Linked DNA regions of Homo sapiens: all the other regions are linked to region 4. The links are contacts of gene promoters, found by promoter capture Hi-C in blood cells and fetal thymus (Javierre and others, 2016). All regions are on one chromosome and are shown on one strand. The core of a region is centred on a gene start or on the middle of the fragment in contact, and the rest is flanking DNA. Distances in the headings are between cores, read along the strand shown. Region 1 has its middle 9.8 kb from the start of RASGRP3-AS1. Region 2 overlaps RASGRP3 (RAS guanyl releasing protein 3). Region 3 overlaps LOC105374455 (a long non-coding RNA gene). Region 4 holds the start of TTC27 (tetratricopeptide repeat domain 27). Region 5 overlaps RASGRP3 (RAS guanyl releasing protein 3). Region 6 overlaps RASGRP3 (RAS guanyl releasing protein 3). Region 7 overlaps RASGRP3 (RAS guanyl releasing protein 3).

Region 1 (2,700 bases), core at 34-2,533, 950 kb before region 4:
ATGGCTTGAACCCGGGAGGCAGAGGTTGCAGTGAGCCGAGATTGCACCTCTGCTCTCCAGCCTGGGCAACAGAGGGAAACTCCATCTCAGGGAAAAAAAAAAAAAAAGAAGAAGAAAGGCCTGTAGTTCAGTTCAGTAAAAATGAGTGTCTGCTATATTCTAGCACTGTGCTGGGCTGAGGTAGAAAGTCCATGGCTTGAGAAATGTCTCAGCATGGACTGAGTGACAGAGCCAGAAACATAGGTAATTGTAGCATAAATAATAATGAAAATTATGTGTGGGTACTAGGAGAGCATGGTGTTTCTGTATTGCTTATATGGGGTGGAAATTGGCAGAAATTGGAAAGATTGCAGGGGTCAGGTAATAGAGGGCTCTCCATGCCGTCCTGAGTAACTTGGAGCTACTTTGTGTACGGTAGTATACCAATAACACGGCATATTCAAGTTTGGCTCTGTGTAAATTATTGGCTCAAGAGTAGGGGATAGACTCAAGGAGGAGGGCAAAGGTTGGAATCAGAAGCGTAGAGCTTAAATTAATGTGGTAGACATAGTAAGGGTATAGAAGGGGCAGATTTGAGAATTATGTCGGAGGCAAATATTATAGGAGTATATTAGAACAAGAAATGTAGTATGAACCTTGGTTTTTGGTTTTTTTGGTTTGTGATTGAGTAGATGATGAACTACCAATTGAAATCGAAATTAGAAGAAGGGGGAAAGGTGGGCTGGGGGAAATGATTTCAGTCTGAAACTCCAGAAAATGCCTGGAGATAGAAGTCTGGGAATGATCAACATCCACTGATTTTTGCATTGAAACATTTCATCAGAAAAATGATTCCAAATTAAACCATCCAAAAAGGGAGGAAAGGGGCAGTGGACCAAGGATGGAATCTTAAGGATTAATCAGTTAAGGGATAGATGGAGCAGGGTCACAGAGTAAGAGGGACACCTAGAGAACAGTGTTGTGGAAGCTTAGGGTTGGTAGTAAGAATGGTAATTTATTACTGTTATTACTGTTTATTGAGAGCAACATGAGTACTACTATTAACCCTCTTTTCACATGTAAAGAGTATGAAGCCAGGATAGTTGAGAAGACTTGCCCATATCCATATAGTTAGTAAGCGGGGGAGCTGGAATAAACCTAGGGCCATCTGGCTCCAGAGCTCAGTAATGCACAATTCCAGATGCTACAGAGAAATTCAACGAACTAGAGTTGAAAAATAGCCGTATGTCTTGCGGCGTTTTTGTGTTGGTGTTGTTTTCTTGTGGCATTTTCAAGAGCAGTTTCAGAATAAAAATGAGACCAGTTTTCTGGAGTTTAAGGAAAGAATGAGAAAATAAACCATAAATTTAGATTATAGTTGACCCTGAACAACAGATCCATTTATATGAGAAAGTTTTTCAACCAAATGCCGCTGGAAAATACAGTATTCACAGGATGTAAAGACCTCCGTATAGGGAGGGGCTGATTTTTCATATATGTGGGTTCCACAGGGCTGACTGTGGACTTGACTATGTGTGCATATTGGTATGTGCATTAGTTCAGGGGTCCTGGAACTAATCTCCTGTATACCAAGGGACCACTGTAGTTCTAGAAGCTTCACTGAGAAAGGACTGAGTAAAATAACAGTGTAACATTTAGTGGAATGAAGTGATGTACTCTGAAAGGTTACAAAAAGCCAGGGAAGTCTTAAAGAAAATATAATTGAAAGTCTTTAAGAACCCAAAAGTATCAATAATAGAATTATTTAGGGGTTCAAATATCTAGTACTCTCTCTTTATTTATTGGTTTATAAATGAATAAATGCATGAACGACAGGCCTAGACTAGAGTGATCATAGCTCACTGCAGCCTCGACCTCCCAAGCTCAAGTGATCCTCCCACCTCAGCCTTCCGAGTAGCTGGGTCTGCAGGTGGGCACCACCACACCCAGCTAAGTTTTTTCATTTTTCATAAAGCCAGGGCCTCGCCATGTTGCCCAGGCTGGTCTCAAACTCCTGGGCTGTTGCGATCCTCCCACCTTGGCCTCCCGAAGTGCTGGAATTACAGGTGTGAGCCACAGCGCCTGGCTTCTTATGAGGCATTTACAAAATGGTCGAGATAACAGGCTTATTTTGCAAAATGTATGAAAAGTACTATCAAGTCCTCAGAACAGGTAAGTTTATTCCGAGTTATGCAAAATTTCCAGCACTTATCAAGGCCTTAGTCAACACCAGCTGTATTATCTCTCAAGGTTTAACTGCTTCAGAATTGTTTCTTTTCCAATAGAAACCAATTTATGTGATATGGTGTGGAAGATGATCAATCACAAGTTAACTACACGAATGTCTAACTACAGAGAAATTTGCTTCATTCTAACCCTCAAATAGTAGAAATTAGTGAAAAATTTTGTAATGAAACAAAAAGTAAATTACAACCTAAAAGGATGAGCCAGGGCTTTTTAAAAAATCTCATTTGTAATGATAATGAAATGTAATAAATTTAAATTTTGTGGTGCCACTCTTTTAAGGTTAACACCTTATCAAGTTATTTAAGTGCTTACTCTGGAAAAAATACAAGTAATGGAAAGCATTTTTCCCCTAGATACCTACTGTATAACAAACTAGGGCAATGAAATTTGTACCTATGTTAAAATTTGAGAGCAATGGGTGGATGCAACAAATACTTGACTAACAATTCATGTAAATTACCAGGAAGCAGCCTG
Region 2 (2,700 bases), core at 42-2,541, 890 kb before region 4:
ATTGTACCGTTTTACAGACTACATTTAACACCAAGTCCAGGACCATCCAGGACCACACTTCAAATTAGCCATCTCCTGTCTCCAAAACCCCATCCATCACATGGAGCCTCTCTCTGCCCTCCTTCAATCTAAAACCGCTCCCACTCATAGCCTCTCTTTCAGTTGAGAGGAAACCCTTCCTTCAATTCATGGTGAGTAGATGGGAATGGGTGTGGTGAGGGAATAGAAGAAAATAAATCCACCCTTTCTAAGAGCTAGTTTCATTCCGTAATCACATTTACTACTACTTGATCTCTAGTCCAAAAGATAGTTCCCCCCACCCCACCCAACAGAGGAGAGCCAATTTTAACAAAGTTGGTGGGAGGGGTATCAGAGTAGAGTCTGTTGTCAAACTAGGTCTGCAGCTTGGGGAAAAGGAAATTGTCCACGATTCCAGAACCAGAAACTACAAGAAATTAAATTTGTAAATATATTTACCTCATGAAGTAGCAGATCTTTAATCGAAATTCATTGCAGCTTTCTCCAGTGGCATTTCGATACGTAAACCAGTTAAAGAAAAAAAATCCTTGCACCTCCTTTCCTTTGCACACCCCTGCAGCTGTGCCCTCAATGTATACCAATTCCTAATAAGAGGACCATGCTGGGGTTATATAGACACTCAAATACGGAGAGAAGTGGCCTCTGATGACTTCCACACTGAACAATTGAAACTTGATTTATTATAGCTCTGGAATGCATTTTTTTGGTCTGAAGAAGAAGCCACTTACAGGATTAGTTTTGCCTTCCTCCACACTTATTAACCAATAACTGCCAACTGTAATTACAAATAGTCTGGCAACTATACATAATTAAAGTTGGTAGTACAGAGAAACACTACATTGTTTTGAGATGGAGTCTCGCTCTGTTGCCCAGGCTGGAGTGCAGTGGCACGATCTCGGTTCACTGCAAGCTCTGCCTCCCGGGTTCACACCACTCTCCTGCCTCAGCCTCCCTAGTAGTGGGAACCCGCCAACATGCCTGGCTAATTTTTTGTATTTTTAGTAGAGACGGGGTTTCGCCGTGTTAGCCAGGATGGTCTTGATCTCCTGACCTTGTGATCCGCCCACCTCGGCCTCCCAAAGTGCTGGGATTACAGGTGTGAGCCACCGCGCCTGGCCGAGAAACACTATTTTAACCAAAAAGATTTTGTATTTAGGATTAATGCCTTATACAGTTATGCACCACATAACAACGTTTCAGTCAATGAAGGACTGCATATGTGACAGTGGTCCAATAAGATTATAGTGGGATTGAAAAATTCCTATTGCCTGGTGACATGGTAGCCAGCATAATGTTGTAACCCAATGCATTACTCATGTGTTTGTAGTGATGGTGGTGTAAACAAACCTGCTGTTGTGTGAGTCATATAAAAGTCTAGTGTGCACAGTTATGTATAGTATATGATACTTGAGAATAAATGACTGTTATTGGTTTATGTATTTACTATATTATTTTTGTTGTAATTTTAGAGTACTCCTTTTACTTAAAAAATTAAAAAGTTAACTGTAAAACAGCCTCAGCAGGTTCTTCAGGACCTATTCCAGAAGAAGGGATTGTTATCATAGGAGATGACCAGCTCCATGCCTGTTACTGCTCTTGCAGACACCTTCCAGGGGAACAAGAGATAGAGGTGGAAGACAGTGATATTGATGATCCTGAGCCTGTGTAAACCTAAACCTAGGCTAATGCGTGTGTTTCTGTCTTTGCTTTTAACGAAAAAAGTTTAAAAAGTAAAAAAAAAAATTTAAATAGAGTAAGTTTGTAGAATAAAGATATTAAGAAAGAAAATATTTTTTACAGCAGTGCAATATATTTGTGTTTTAAGGTGTATATTACAAAAGGACTAAAAAGTTTTTAAAGGTTTATAAAGTATAAAAGTTACAGTAAGCTAAGGTTAATTTATTATTGAGGAAAGAAAAATATTTTTATAATTTGGTGTAGCCTAAGTGTATAGTGTCTATAAAGTCTACAATATTGTACACTAATGTCCTAGGCCTTCACATTCACTCTCCACTCACTCACTGACTCACCCTGAGCGGCTTCCAGTCTTGCAAGCTCCATTCATGATAAGCACCCTATACAGGTGTACCACTTTTTATCTTTTATACCATATTTTTACTGCACCTTTTCTATGTTTAGATACACAAATACCCACCATTGTGTTACAGTTGCCTATAGAATTCAGTACAGCGACATGCTGTACAGGTTTGTAGTCCAGGACCAATAGGCTGTATCATATAGCCTAGGTGTGTAGTAGGCTACAGCATCTAGGCTTGTGTGAGTGCACTCTATGATGTTTGCACAATCATGAAATCATCGAATGATGAATTTCTTAGAATGTATCCCCGTCGTTATGTTATGTGTAACTGTATGGGTACTCTAATTTCTTCTTTAATATTTGAAAATGTCATTTTCAGGTATATTAATACTCAAGTTGTGTTATTTACTTGTAAGCGTATTTATTCATATTCTTTTTAACAAATATTTATTGAGCTTGTGTATATGCCAGGCACTGTGGATATAGCATGAGCAAGGAATCCAAAGGGAGGAAAGTTTATAGAAATGTCGATTCACAGGCAGTCTTCAACTTTCCACATTAAACGTTACTATGCCTAAATATCCCTTTTTATTTGTGTTTCATGCATTGGTGGCCATGCTAAG
Region 3 (2,700 bases), core at 152-2,651, 980 kb before region 4:
CCCAAGGAAGTCTTATCTCTCAGTTGGGGGGATTGGGATGTTTCCATATCTTCCAGGTGGCCAAGAGCATGCTTCTCTAATCCAAGTGTGCAAAGAGCAAAGTATTTCTCCATAACTGCCTCAGCCATCCCTTAAAGTATATTTTCTACCTAGTTATTATACACCAAGGCTAAAATGCAAAGTAATTTGATACCCCCACATGTCAAAATCATCAGCTAATGCAATGCAAAGTAATGTTTGATACCCCCAAAAGTCAAAACCATCAGCTAACACAGTGCAAAAGAGAACAGAGCCTTAGATTTTGAGAGGGATTTATTTTCTTTCAATTCCTGGGGTTCCATGGGAAAACAGAAGTTTTTCCCAGAATGGGGTCCATGGTACCTCCTGTTTTTCCCCAGGCAGCCCAGGCTGTTAGTAATTATCTTATGTTTTCTCATGTGGGCATCAACAGTGGCAAGAAGACAAAATGAAGAAAAACAGGTTAGTTGACTGATAAGAAAAACATTTTTCCCTTTTCTTTAGAAGAAAAACATGATTCAAGAAAAGGAAAAAAAGTCTTTTAAATATATATAGCTTGAATATCCATTTTTAATTAAGCCAATTTTAACCACAGAGTTCTTTTGTTAAAAAATTCTTTTTTAAATCTCTTATTACCAGACTCTAGCCAGGACAGCCAATATTTCCGGCCTTTGAATTCTACCCCAGGTAACCTCCCACATGAAATAGTAAGTCTTAACTAAGGTTATAACTTAACCATTAACGCATAAGGTGTTTTAAAGAGATGGTAAGCAGTTTCTTTTTTTTCTCTTTTTCTTTTTTTTTTAACAAGATTTAGAATCTTCCCAAGGTTAGTTCAGAGAAAGGAAAATTCAAGACAGGAAATCAGAAGCTATCCATGGGGAGAGGGAGGGAACCTCCATACATGGCAAAGTTACACAAATAACAAACCAGAAAGGAATCATTCGGAAGCCAAGAATTGAACCTGGGCCACCGCTGTCAAAAGATAAAGCCTTAGCTACTAAACTACACAGCACTGAGCATTGTTTCTCCCAGAAGAAGTCTGCAGCAGCCAATTTCAAGCTTGCAAAGACTTTTAACTGCTCAAGGTAATTTTTAAGGCTGTGACATGAACCCCAAAATTCCTGTCCTCTGGATGGTGGAGACCAAGATAAAGTATCCCCACATGGTCACAATGTTAACTTCTTAAGGACACAAAACAAGACAAATTTCATCTGGTATTGGTTTCAGGGACTCGCAGCAAAGTCTGTAACGGACCAGCCTGCCAGGCTGGCTTGAAAAGTTGGCTTACAGGGGTCCTAAGCCCACGTTCTATCCTGTGATACCCTCCTCTCCATTACAGAAAGACAAATTCTTGGCACAAAGTGCACCAGATTTGCTATAGCCTATGACTAGTCTCACAAATCCTTTTTTTACTATTAATAAAACCCTTGCAGAGGAGACACAGTGATGTTTATCATTTACCATCACCCGACATGCAGAGAAAGAAAGAGAAAGAGAGGCAGGCCAGAAACTTGACTGATAAGAATTTCTTACCCTTTTTGCTGGTATACCAGGTTTCTGGGTCCCCTTTCTCTGCAGCTTCCAGAAGAATGGAGAGGCTTTTGATGGCCCTGTTCACTGTGCCATAGCTGTCGGCGACCAAGCCCCATTACAAAAGAAAATAATCCTTTTCTGTTTTATGAAACCATCAGCAAAAGCTTCTCAATTATGCAAGATGCTGCCTGATGAGCTGCATAGGGAACCAAATTAACATTTTCCATCCCAGCAGAAGCAAAATACACATAACACAATGGACACTGGTCACCTCGCTCAGCACCCAACATCAACCTGGCAATGCTGAAACTTTTTCCCATTGGTCCCTGTTGTCTTTGATCCACTCAAGGTGGGGAGGGGTGACCTCCAATCCAGAATTCAATGGGTTGTCTCTGGGCAAGATGAAGAGCAGTTACCCTCAATCAGGCCTGTTAAACTTCTTTCCGGACTCACTGAATGTGACCAGATAGATAAGGAGGGTTCTCTGAGTTAGGCCTGCTAGACTTCCATCAGCAATTCCTTCAGAAATATTCTCCACATATACAAACACATACACAAAGACAAGATGGACAGAAGGCCTTCCGAATCAAGATCCCTAACCAAGAATTCCAGAGTATACCTTCCCAACTATCCTCCTATTCTCCATGTGAGAAATCTCCCCGAAATCTTCCTGATTGAGGAGAAGTCTCCTCAACCAATACCCTTCCTATTATTTAGGGAGAGCCAACCAAGGCCTTTCAGGAGCCAAACCAGGACAGACACCCCATGGTGGAGCAACAGACACCCTGTGCAATGAGGCTACAGACAGACACTCCACCATGGGGCGAGAGAACCAGTCAGGAGAAGGAAGGAGGCATTGGCAGTGCCTAGGATACTCACCAACCCAGACACCCTGCAATGGGCCTACAGACAGACACCCTGTGATGGGGATACAGTTATGGGACGTCTCCCCAGGACTACTTCTCTATTGCAATTAGATCCTTGCATGTTGGGTTGGCAGCACCCCACCAGTAGAAACAGGACCAGAGTTAGCCTCCAGTCCAAGAGAACTAGGTGGCTGCTTGGGCTGGCCTCTGAATCCATCACTGGAGGGGGGCTGCTGAACCATGGGCAGACCCACGAGGGCAATTCCAGACGAGCCCCCAA
Region 4 (2,700 bases), core at 27-2,526:
CAACATGATGAAAGCCGTCTCTACTAAAAACACAAAATTAGCCGGGCATGGTGGTGCATGCCTGTAGTCCCAGCTACTTTGGAGGCTGAAGCAGGAGAATCGCTTGAACCGGGGAAGCGGAGGTTGCAGTGAGCCGAGATGGCACCAGTGCACTCCAGCCAGAGCAACAAGAGGGAGACTCCATCCCCCCAAAAAAACAACTTTGCTGCCTCATTTTAGCTCCTCTGCTTACCAACAGTGTGACCTTAAATAAATTACTTAACCAGACCCGGGCGCGGTGGCTCAGGCCTGTAATCCCAGCACTTTGGGAGGCTGAGGCAGGCGAATCATCTGAGGTCAGGAGTTCCAGACCAGCTAGGCCAACATGGTGAAACCTCGACTCTACTAAAAATACAAAATTAGCCGGGCGTGGTGGCGCATGCCTGTAATCCCAGCTACCCTGGAGGCTGAGGCAGGAGAATCACTTGAACCCGGGAGGCGGAGGTTGCAGCGAGCCGAGATCGCGCCATTGCACTCCAGCCTGGGCAAAAAGCAAAACTCCGTCTCAATAAATAAATAAATAAATAAATAAATAAATAAATAAATAGATAAAATAAAATTACTTAACCCAACTGTATTTACAGATCTTCACCGCAAAATGGGATTAAAAATTGAATCTACCTTAAGTATCTACTATAAGCATTAAATGACTGAGTACATGTTAAGGGCTTAGAAAAATAACTGACATTGCCATTGTCATTATTACTGAACCTGGGCGGTAAGAAGTTTTGCGCAAAGAAAGTGAGGACCACGCCCACCATGTCAAAGACTAAACGACCCAAAGCCTCAAGGAATCAGCTAGACTGTGTTAGGGAAAAATGAAGGGAGGGATGAGAATCAGTCGCTGCCATCCCTTTTCCTCACAGTTCCCACGATAGCCTAAGGCCCGGTAGGTGCGCCTCTCACCTGAACCGACGACCCCCTCCTGTTTCCATTGCTGCCGCTCAGCCTCAGTGGGGAATCCCCTCAGAATTGCCAGCTCCGGGGTCCACATCACCCCAGACACCGCTGCAGCCAAAACAGGCTCCCACGAGGGCCACACGGGAGTCAACAAAAGAAAGTGAAAACAGGAGAGTCCAAAGGCGCTGAAATCTAGTGGCGACAGTTACCGTAAATACACCTGCGGCCCTAGAATTCCATGTGCGGATACTACCTCAAGGAGGCGGCCATAACAGCAGCGCGGGGCACCCTGGGAAAAACACGCACGCTCTCTGGTCTGGCTTCCGCCTAGGAGAAGAACCCGAGCTTGAGTAAGGAGCCTGTTGGGTGGTTATGCCCCACCCCGGGGCGGGCAATAGGGGGAGTTGAGGGCGCGGTCGCGCTCAGCCCCGCCCCCAGTGGGACCGCTTCCAAGAACTGTGAACGTGGAAGTGAGTGTGCCTCCCACCGAGGGCTAGGGTTCAAATGCAACTCAAAACGGACGTCTTGGCCAAAGCAGTTTGATTAGAAGGGCTAGAGTTGTGATTCTTAAAGCATTTTGGGTTAGAACGCTCTCGACAACCCGATGAAAACCACAGTCCTTCGCGCAGAGTGCAGGTGGGCCCTTGCTCTCAGCCTAAGGGTACCCTCTCAGGGAATCACAGACCCTCTGACGTGGAGTCGGTGAAGCCCAGGTTGGAACCCCGTCAGCATAGCATGGGTCTTTCGGCGAATGAGCGTGTAAGGAAAGGATCTGGTTTTGACACTGCTCTACATGAATCATGGCCGGGTGGGAAATCTGCCCCTGCCGCTGGTGCAGGGAAGTTTTTGGAACACTGTCGGAACGCTGTAGAAGAGTGATCCCAGGGGTGATCACAAAGAAATTGCAAGGAGACAAACCAGCCTCCGCTGGTACCTTATTTGCACTTCTTTGAATCTTCCTAGCAGCACTCCAAAGAAACAGTTAGAGGGCGGGCGCGGTAGCTCACGCCTGTAATCTCAGCACTTTGGGAGGATGAAGCGGATGGATCACCTGAGGTCAGGAGTTCGAGACCAGCCTGGCCAATATGGTGAAACCCGTCTCTACTAAAAATACAAAAATTAGCCGGACGTAGTGGGGCACCCCTGTAAACCCAGCTACTCGGGACGGTGAGGCGGGGGAATTGCTTGAACCCGGGAGGCGGAGGTTTCAGTGAGCTGAGATGGTGCCACTGCACTCCAGCCTGGGCAATAGGAAAGAGGGAGGGAGGGAGGGAAGAAGGAAGGAAGGGAGGGAGGGAGGGAAGGAGGGAAGGAAAACAGGACTATGGCTTTGTCCCATTGGCTTGACACCTGTACTGAGATATGTCATGTAAGAGCCAGGAGAAAACTGCAGGGTAACTCTGACCACAAGAGCAAAAGCTCTCTGAAAAGAGGCTGACCCGGTACCCAGCTCCAAGGAAGAAGCTAAATAAATGTTAATTCACTTTCTTACTCAGTAAAGAGCCACTCCAGAATGTGAAGGGAGAGGAACTCAGCTCAGCTCATTTCAGCCATTGCCATCAGATACCAAAGGAAGCCGGACCTGACTGTGATTGGAGAAGAGCGGATGCCCTAAAATGTCCTCCCACTGAGAAGTAATTAAAAACTGTTTTTCAGGCCGGGCGCAGTGGCTCACGCCTGTAATCTCAGCACTTTGGGAGGCCGAGGCGGGCGGATCATGAGGTCAGGAGATGGAGACCATCCTGCCTAACAAGGTGAAAC
Region 5 (2,700 bases), core at 92-2,591, 870 kb before region 4:
AATTCCATCTCAAAAAAAAAAAAAAGAAAGAAAAAAAGAAAGAGACAGTTAAAAGAGACCAAGGAATAGGAATAAGGATGTTGTTGGTAGGTTGTAAAAGGAGGAATTAATCAATTGTAATTTACTAAAGTGTGAGCAAATTAAGACAAATGAAGGGAAGCCCAGAGTGAACTAATTTCCCTTGACCTACCATGTGAAGGTATCTACACCCCCCAACCCCCACCCACCTCCACACACAGAAACAGCACCATGCCTTTCTTCTCTCTTCACCAGTTCCTTGGTGTAACTGTCTAGAGTTCATGCGTCTTACCACTTCTCCTTCCTCTAGCTTGTAACTCCCCTTGTATTTCCTCTACATAGATAAACGTGAGGTGTCTTCTGGCCAAAACCAAACACTAACAAACAAACAAAATTTAGCAACCCTCTACTGGCCATCTCTCCCATCCCTCACAGCCAAGTAGAATTTGCTGGTTCTATTTGATCCTCTCTTCAGACCACCCAAATCAAGCTCTGTCTAACTCCCCTTCTACTTCCTGCCCTCATACTCTATTCAAACTACTCTGGCAAAAGTCATTACACCCGCTAAGCTCTCTTCATTGTCTTCTTATGCTAAGGCTTAGCCGCAGTGTAGTACTTCTTGACCACACCCTCCCTTAAATTCTCCTTTTGGTTGGTTTTCCTGGCAACATCTCTTCCCTGGTTTTTCTGCCTCTGGTCATACCTCATCGTCTCATCTGCAGACTCCTTTCCTACTGCTGGCCTCTAAACTGCCAACGGTTCTCATGTCTCCATGCTGAACTCATCCACAGAAGTGGCTTCAGCTACCACCTCTACGTTGATGACTCCAAACCAAACAGAGACAAGCTACACGCAAACTGCAGAGGAAGGGAGTAGGGTTTGGAGACAGGTGGACTTGGGATTGCAACCTAGCTCTTCTACTTACTAGCATGTGACTTTGGACAAGTTTTACTTAACATTTGGGTGAGTTTTCGTATCTCACCCTCATCCATCGCTAGTGGAAATGTAAAATGGTACAGTCACTTTGGAAATGAGTTAGGTAGCTCCTCAAAAACTTAAACATAGAGTTATCATATGATCTAGCAAATTCATTCCTAGGTACATACCCAAGAGAATTGAAAAATGTTCATAGCAGTATTATTCATAATTTCCCCAAAGTGAAAACAACCCAAATGTCTATCAATCGACAAATGGATAAACAAAATGAAGTATATCTCCATACAATGGAATATTATTTAATGATAAAAAGGAACAAGGTACTGATACATGCTGCAATATAGATAAACCTTGAAAATGTTATACTAAGTGAAAGAGGCCAGACATAGAAGGCCACATATTGTGCAACTCCATTTATAGAAAATATGTAGAATAGGCAAATCTATAGCGACAGAAAGGAGATTAGTGGTTGCCAGGCACTGAGGGAAGGCAGGAATGGGAATTGACTGCAGTGGGTTCACCGTTTCTTTTTGGAGTGATAAAATTGCTGTCCAATTTGATAGTGCTAGTTGTTGAAGAACCTTGTGAATACACTAAATACCATTGAACTGTGCACTTTATTTTATTTATTTATTTTTTTGAGACGGAGTCTTGCTCCGTTGCCAGGCTGGAGTGCAGTGGTGCGATCTTGGCTCACTGCAACCTCCGCCTCCCAGGTTCAAGCGATTCTCCTGCCTCAGCCACCTGAGTAGCTGGGATTACAGGTGCGCGCCACCATGTCCGGCTACTTTTTGTATTTTTATTAGAGATGGGGTTTCACCATGTTGGCCAGGCTGGTCTCAAACTCCTGACCTTGTGATCCGCCTGCCTCGGCCTCCCAAAGTGCTGGGATTACAGGCGTGGGCCACCGCACCCACCTCCTTCTCATTTTTTTAACCTGCTATATCTCCCATATTTCCTTCCTTGGTCTATGGCTCAACCTGCCTCCCAGTATTCCATGCCAGAAACTTGGGACTCACCCTAGATTTCCTAGCACTCTCTTTTGCCATCCCTCATGCCCAAGTCTGATCACCTACTTCCCAGTTGTTTCTTCTCCTCGCCCACTGCCCTTCATCTCCACCGCCTCTCCTGGGTTCAAGCTGTCATCCCGTATCCCCTGGCCCACCGCAATGGCTCACTTCTCAGACTTCTATATTGGTTCTCAGTTCCTGTTTATCTCCCCTCTCTCCTGGGCCCAAATCAATCTTTCCAAATTATCAGATTGATTGCGGAACTCCTGTCTCCAAAATTCTTCCACAGTTCCCTGTGGTCTTACATAAATAGAAAGTCCTTTCCATGGCATACAAAGCCTGCCCCCTGCATTCCCTCCCTCCTTTTTCCTCTCTTTACTCCAGCACATGTGATACTGCTGTGAAAGGGAACTCTGGTTTCACAGACCCCATGCTTTGCACACATTGTTTCTTTATTTTTTTGAATGTCTCTCCTCTCCCAATACTTACGCTTGGCAATCCCCTACTCCCTTTTCCAGAATTCTCCTCTTCCTTCCTCACCCTTCCAGGTGGATTTTGGCACTCAGTGTACTGACTTCCTTTAGCTTTGTAAAATTTATGTTACTGAATGGTTCTGTCGGTCTCTCCAATGGCTTAAGAACAAAACTGTATTTTTTCTATCCCCTAGCCCAGAAGTGTGCCTGATATCTTTATATGACTACTTTTCTCTGCCATCATATTCTTTTGACATGGTCTG
Region 6 (2,700 bases), core at 1-2,500, 910 kb before region 4:
TCTTTTTTCTTTTCTTTTCTTTTCTTTTTTTTTTTTTCAGACGGAGTCTCACTCTGTCTCCCAGGCTGGAGTGCAGTGGCGCGATCTCACCTCACTGCAAGCTCTGCTTCCCGGGTTCACTCCATTCTCCTGCCTCTGCCTCCTGAGTAGCTGAGACTGCAGGCGCCCGCCATCGCGCCCGGCTAATTTTTTGTATTTTTAGTAGGGACAGGGTTTCACCGTGGTCTCGATCTCCTGACCTCGTGATCCGCCCGCCTCGGCCTCCCAAGTGCTGGGATTACAGGCGTGAGCCACCGCGCCCGGCCCTACTCTTTTTTCTACACGGAAAACTCTGACAGAGCCTTGTCCTACATTAGGTGATTTTTCTAATCTCAGTAACATCGGGCTGCTGTGTCATAAAATTCCAAAACTATACAAAAGGAGAAACTATCCAACTTACAGGATTTCTTTCCTGCCCTTGGGTAATCAATTTATTGGGCATCTTAGTGGGACCTATGTGGGTTTTTCATGAGTGATTCTAATCCCCAATCCCTTGAGCTGTTGACAATGACAGAGGTGGCAAATGCCTGTGAAAGAGAGGAGCTGGAAGTAGCTGAGAGTATCTGGGCAAGAGAGACAACAAAGGGAAAAGGGCCTTTCTGATCGACTCTCCCCAGGACCCAATGCCTGGTAGGACTAAGTGCCTGCTAAATTGTTCCTACCTGCCAGAGGGTTGTTTTCAGGGGTTCCATCAGATTCCTGGACAATCGCAGAACATTCTGGAAAGAGAAAGGGTCTTCTAGTGCCCTCTCTTTATTCTCCCTCAACCACTTACCTCCACTAATTTCCTTATGTGCTTGTTGATGACCGTGGGGTCTGGCTTTGGCATCACCCCTAATGCCCACTCCAGGGGTACCACAGGCTTGTTGGGCGTCGTAGGGGAGGTAGGCTGCTGATAAACAAAAAAAAAACCACATATTTTTCAACTTTATTATTATTATTATTTTGAGACAGGGTCTGGTTCTGTCGCCCAGGCTGGAGTGCAGTGGTGTAATTTCGGCTCACTACAATTTCTGCCTCCTGGGCTCAAGCCATCCTTCCACCTCAGCCTCCCAAGTATCTAGGACTACAGGTGTGTGCCACCACGCCCAGCTAATTTTTGTATATTTAGTACAAATGGGGTTTCACCATGTTGCACAGGCTGGTCTCTAACTCCTGGGCTCAAGCAATTCTCCGGCCTCAGCCTCCCAAAGTGCCGGGATTATAGGCATGAGCTACCACGCCTGGCCATATTTTTCAACATTAACTGGGGCCTTGAACAACTAGGACCAGGGACACTGAGAAGAATGAATAAGTTTTGTATATTCATAATACCAGTAGAAACTTACATTTATATAGCTATTAAATGCTTATAAAACAAGCATCTTATGTTAATGGAATCTAATCTGTAACTAAATGCATGTTTAGATACTGCCTTTTGTTTAACAGCAACTTAAATTCTATTATTTTATTTTTATTATTTATTTATTTATTTATTTATTTTGAGACAGAGTCTCTCTCTGTCACCCAGGCTGGAGTGCAGTGGCATGATCTCGGCTCACTGAAACCTCTGCCTCCCAAGTTCAAGCGATTCTTGTGCCTCAGCCTCCCAAGTAGCTGGTATTACAGATACCCACCATCAAGCCCAGCTAATTTTTGTAATTTTAGTAGAGACGGGTTTCCACCATGTTGGCCAGGCTGGTCTCGAACTCCTGACCTCAGATGATCCACCTGCCTTGGCCTCCCAAAGTGCTGGGATTACAGGTGTGAGTCACCACATCCAGACTAAATTCCATTATTTTAAATGGGAAAAAAGCAATGCGCTCCCAGTCCATCCAAAAATCCTATCCGAGTTCTCCAAATATCACTAAAACTTTTATATAACAATCCATCATGGATTTTTGTGTAATACAGGATACAAAAACACCAGTTATCTAATTCTCTAATACTTAGTGATCAGTTATGGTGCATGCAGCAAATGGGTACCAGTGGGTGGCCAAGTTTATGTCCTTACGTCTGCACCTTGCTCAATACGCTTAAGCACTTCTGACTGTTCTGCCAATCATTAGGTCTCTCTGGCCCTCTTTGGTGAACTTTCTTTCTCCACAGATTTTTCTGCATTCTTACAAGACATTTGCATATAAAGTTGTGGGGAAGATGGTAGCACAATGCATAACATGCTTGGATAACACAAGCACAGAACACAATCCTTTCAGGAGACCAGCCAAGACTGGTGTTCACTTTATATCCTCTCCCTGAAACCTTCATAAAATGTCAACATTTTTGCTGGTGCACACATGCAAATCTATTTTTTTCTATCTTTTCTTTTTAATTTATATTTATAGAGGCTGGGTACAGTGGCTCACACCTGTAATCCCAGCACTTTGGGAGGCTGAGGCAGGTGGATCACCTGAGGCCAGGAGTTTGAGACCAGCCTGGCCAACATGGTGAAACTCCCTGTCTACTAAAAATAGAAAAAAATTAGCCGGATGTGGTGGCACATGCCTGTAGTCCAAGCTACTTGGGAGGCTGAGGCAGGAGAATTGCTTGAGCCAGGGAGGTGGAGGTTGCAGTGAGCTGAGATTGCCACGGTACTCCAGCCTGGGAGACACAGCAAGACTCCGTTTCAAAAAAAAAAATTACATTTATAGATATATATACTTGTGTGTGTGTGTGGGGGGG
Region 7 (2,700 bases), core at 201-2,700, 930 kb before region 4:
TTAGAGATCCTCAAGGGCCTCGTATCTCTGATTCTCACCACCCCCTTTTCCATGATGCTGTCAAAAGCTTCTTTTGAGCAGAATGAAAAGTTTCCAATTCTCCTTTATCTAAAAGTCTTTTGCTTCTACTGCCTTTCTTGAGTCTGGGCCCTGGTTCTAGCTTGGAAAACCAAGCTGATCTGTATCGTGTACTGGTATTTTGGATATATAGTCATGGGTTTCTGGGGCATCATTTCAGTACGCACACATGACAGCCTTCAATAGGTTTCAGAACTTGATCTCGTTCAATTTTTTTAAATCATGATACTGAGATCCATAAAGAAGAAACATATGTCCAGGGTCACATAGCTAGGCAGTGGCAAGACTAAAAGTGATACATGTCTTCATTCCCAACCATTCTGCTTTCAGAACTACCAGGCTGCCCCCCAGACCCTCTGTAACGCTCATCTCAGCACTTTCAGCCTCCTTCTTCTGGTTTTCTTTGTGGGTTGACCTAGCACTTACCTCACCATCCTGTCTGGTCTCTTCTCCTTCATCCTGGTCAAGTTCAAACTCCGTGCCCCGGTCTACAACATCCACACCAGCATGCACCCTGGGCTTCTCATTTTCCCATTTGGCAAAGCCTTTGTCCTTTGCTGCTTTGTCATGGAACTTGGATTTCATTTTAGGGAAGGTGTGGGACCCCGAGTCCCCCCAGCCAGCCTCTGACCAGACAGGTTCAGTCTGGGTGGCCTGGCTGGTGGTGGCCCTCTGTAGCCTCACAGAGATCTTGCGAGAAGAGCCTGTAACCAGTGTGATGGCTCTGCTGTCTAAATCCCTGTGTCCAGCAGTGACTCCAGGGAACTCAAACACCTCATCCTGCGCTGGAAGTGAAAAAGGGTGGTGATTATTTGACATCTGACTGCTTGACAGCAAAGCATCAAGGTTAGTGCAAACAGCACGAGTCTGGCATGCAACATTCTAGAGGAACCGACAAGGGACAGAACTCAATTAGCCGCAGGCAAGTTACATATTCCTGAGACTAGAAAGCAGAGAGAAGCAAGGATGATTCAAGGGTTTAGCTACTGCTGCTCACCCTAAAGAAGGCCTTAGCGTTTAGAGTGACTGACCGGGTTTAGACCCAGAACCTAAATGAGGTCCAAGTGTGAGGAGGCAAGCAGAAAGAGACCATGGCAGCAAAGAAAGCAGAGGGCATTACCTGGGGGCAGCGAGGGGCTTCCAGGCAGTGACCCATGACCACTGCTCAAGGAGGGCGCCCGGGCAAATCTCCTGCAGGCCAGAACCAGGAGGTCTTTGCACTGTTTGTGACAATTGGCTCCACAGTCTGAAAAATTCCAAGGGTGTCGCAGATGATTAGTGTGTCTGATGTTGATTCAGTTTCCAGGGTGGCACTTGATTTGTCAGCCCTCCCCTCCCCCACCCCAGTTTCTGTGTTGAATTTCAGAGTTGAGCTCAGGCCCATGGGGTGTGTCTAGGATCTGGAAAGAGGCCATTGGTCTGCACTTGCCTTCCTGAGGTTCCGAAAATTCTCTTAGATTTGCTCAGCTTGGTTCTGTATGCAATTGAGGACCTAATGAGCAATTGTGCCTAGGGAGTAAATAGAGTCCAGCCTGAGAGGTCAGTTGCCTTTGCCCAAAACTAAATGCAAATCAAATGGGGTTGAGAGTCTTTCCCAGGCTTAGACGGAATCCCCACAAAGAGAGCCTATGCCAGCATTAGGGCAAGAAGCCTCAGCTTCTAGTCTCTCCCAGGCCAACTGCCTCTGATCATTTACTGTGAGGTGTTCCTCCACTCAGCACTTGTCTGGATTTTTTTTTTTTTTTTCGAGATGGAGTCTCGCTCTATTGCCCAGGCTGGAGTGCAGTGGCGGGATCTCGGCTCACTGCAAGCTCCGCCTCCCGGGTTCACACCATTCTCCTGCCTCAGCCTCCCGAGTAGCTGGGACTACAGGTGCCCGCCACCACACCTGGCTAATTTTTTGTATTTTTTAGTAGAGACGGGGTTTCACCATGTTAGCCAGGATGGTCTCGATCTCCTGACCTCGTGATCCACCCACCTCAGCCTCCCAAAGTGCTGGGATTACAGGCGTGAGCCACCGTGCCCGGCCTTGTCTGGATTTTTTTACTCTTCTTCATTTTCCAAAACCTTTCAGGGCCAGTGATTATATCTTCTGCTTCCAACAGAACACAAGATGGGCATATGCTCAGTAAATATGTTCTATATTTGCTTATGGCTTTGAAACAGCGTGCAGCAGAGTCTGTGAATTGCCCATTAGGATGTTTTAGATAAGACAGTAGAATGTTAATTACTACTTGGGGTAGAAAAATGTGGCCACTTCAGATGGTGGTTCACAATTATTTCCTATGATGAGGGTCCTGCACTTCACTGAGAATCATTGAATAGAGATGATCATTTCTCTCCTACCATCAAGGAGGACCTTTCTAACTATTTCCAGTACCCATTTTCCCCTAAGTGACCTTGTTTCAAATAGTCTTAATGATGTATTCAATCTATTTCAATTCATTTTTTTTTTCACTTTATGTGCCATTAAGAAAATACAAGAGATAATCCAAAGGTGTAATAGATTTTCATCTTTATAAAATTGCGTGTGTGTGTGTGTGTGTGTGTGTGTGTGTGTGTGTGTATTTTAGGGTATGAGGATAGAAACCAGAATAAAACTAATGACTCACTGCTGGGCAA

Evidence for each region. The method cuts DNA at HindIII sites, captures the fragments that hold promoters and counts their contacts. A CHiCAGO score of 5 or more calls a contact.
Region 1: a contact is called between a fragment that was not itself captured here and the fragment with the promoter of TTC27 in region 4, in 14 of 17 cell types (total B cells, naive B cells, fetal thymus and 11 more). The highest score is 20.3, in total B cells.
Region 2: a fragment that was not itself captured here is called in contact with the fragment with the promoter of TTC27 in region 4 in 3 of 17 cell types (naive B cells, total B cells and M0 macrophages); the score reaches 8.1 in naive B cells.
Region 3: a contact is called between a fragment that was not itself captured here and the fragment with the promoter of TTC27 in region 4, in 1 of 17 cell types (total B cells). The highest score is 7.7, in total B cells.
Region 5: a fragment that was not itself captured here is called in contact with the fragment with the promoter of TTC27 in region 4 in 5 of 17 cell types (total B cells, naive B cells, M2 macrophages and 2 more); the score reaches 8.5 in total B cells.
Region 6: a fragment that was not itself captured here is called in contact with the fragment with the promoter of TTC27 in region 4 in 1 of 17 cell types (total B cells); the score reaches 9.7 in total B cells.
Region 7: a contact is called between a fragment that was not itself captured here and the fragment with the promoter of TTC27 in region 4, in 7 of 17 cell types (total B cells, naive B cells, M2 macrophages and 4 more). The highest score is 20.3, in total B cells.

What each region holds. Positions count from the first base shown.
Region 1 is chr2:33,577,886-33,580,585 of GRCh38, reverse strand. No RefSeq gene overlaps it. Among named protein-coding and RNA genes, the nearest start is that of RASGRP3-AS1, 9.8 kb to the right of the region's middle. The HindIII fragment of the contact is 627 bases long and covers 970-1,596 here.
Region 2 is chr2:33,517,792-33,520,491 of GRCh38, reverse strand. It overlaps RASGRP3 (RAS guanyl releasing protein 3), which reads right to left. Exons shown (of 18, transcript NM_001139488.2): 5 at 478-540. Among named protein-coding and RNA genes, the nearest start is that of RASGRP3, 42 kb to the right of the region's middle. The HindIII fragment of the contact is 3,312 bases long and covers 1-2,700 here.
Region 3 is chr2:33,611,704-33,614,403 of GRCh38, reverse strand. The region is part of intron 1 of LOC105374455 (a long non-coding RNA gene); the gene reads right to left. Among named protein-coding and RNA genes, the nearest start is that of FAM98A, 14 kb to the right of the region's middle. The HindIII fragment of the contact is 638 bases long and covers 1,083-1,720 here.
Region 4 is chr2:32,626,626-32,629,325 of GRCh38, reverse strand. It overlaps TTC27 (tetratricopeptide repeat domain 27), which reads right to left and starts at 1,276. Exons shown (of 20, transcript NM_017735.5): 1 at 946-1,276. The coding sequence starts at 1,033. LOC124905985 (a long non-coding RNA gene) reads left to right here and starts at 2,548. Exons shown (of 3, transcript XR_007086273.1): 1 at 2,548-2,693. RefSeq lists a silencer at 787-916 and enhancers at 1,167-1,226, 755-1,414, 1,637-1,696, 1,415-2,076. The HindIII fragment of the contact is 6,273 bases long and covers 1-2,700 here.
Region 5 is chr2:33,499,827-33,502,526 of GRCh38, reverse strand. The region is part of intron 1 of RASGRP3 (RAS guanyl releasing protein 3); the gene reads right to left. Among named protein-coding and RNA genes, the nearest start is that of RASGRP3, 25 kb to the right of the region's middle. The HindIII fragment of the contact is 5,355 bases long and covers 1-2,700 here.
Region 6 is chr2:33,537,325-33,540,024 of GRCh38, reverse strand. It overlaps RASGRP3 (RAS guanyl releasing protein 3), which reads right to left. Exons shown (of 18, transcript NM_001139488.2): 12 at 815-931. Among named protein-coding and RNA genes, the nearest start is that of RASGRP3-AS1, 31 kb to the left of the region's middle. The HindIII fragment of the contact is 4,282 bases long and covers 1-2,700 here.
Region 7 is chr2:33,556,835-33,559,534 of GRCh38, reverse strand. RASGRP3 (RAS guanyl releasing protein 3) reads right to left here. Exons shown (of 18, transcript NM_001139488.2): 16 at 1,199-1,324; 17 at 505-863. The region is part of intron 3 of RASGRP3-AS1 (RASGRP3 antisense RNA 1); the gene reads left to right. Among named protein-coding and RNA genes, the nearest start is that of RASGRP3-AS1, 11 kb to the left of the region's middle. The HindIII fragment of the contact is 2,761 bases long and covers 70-2,700 here.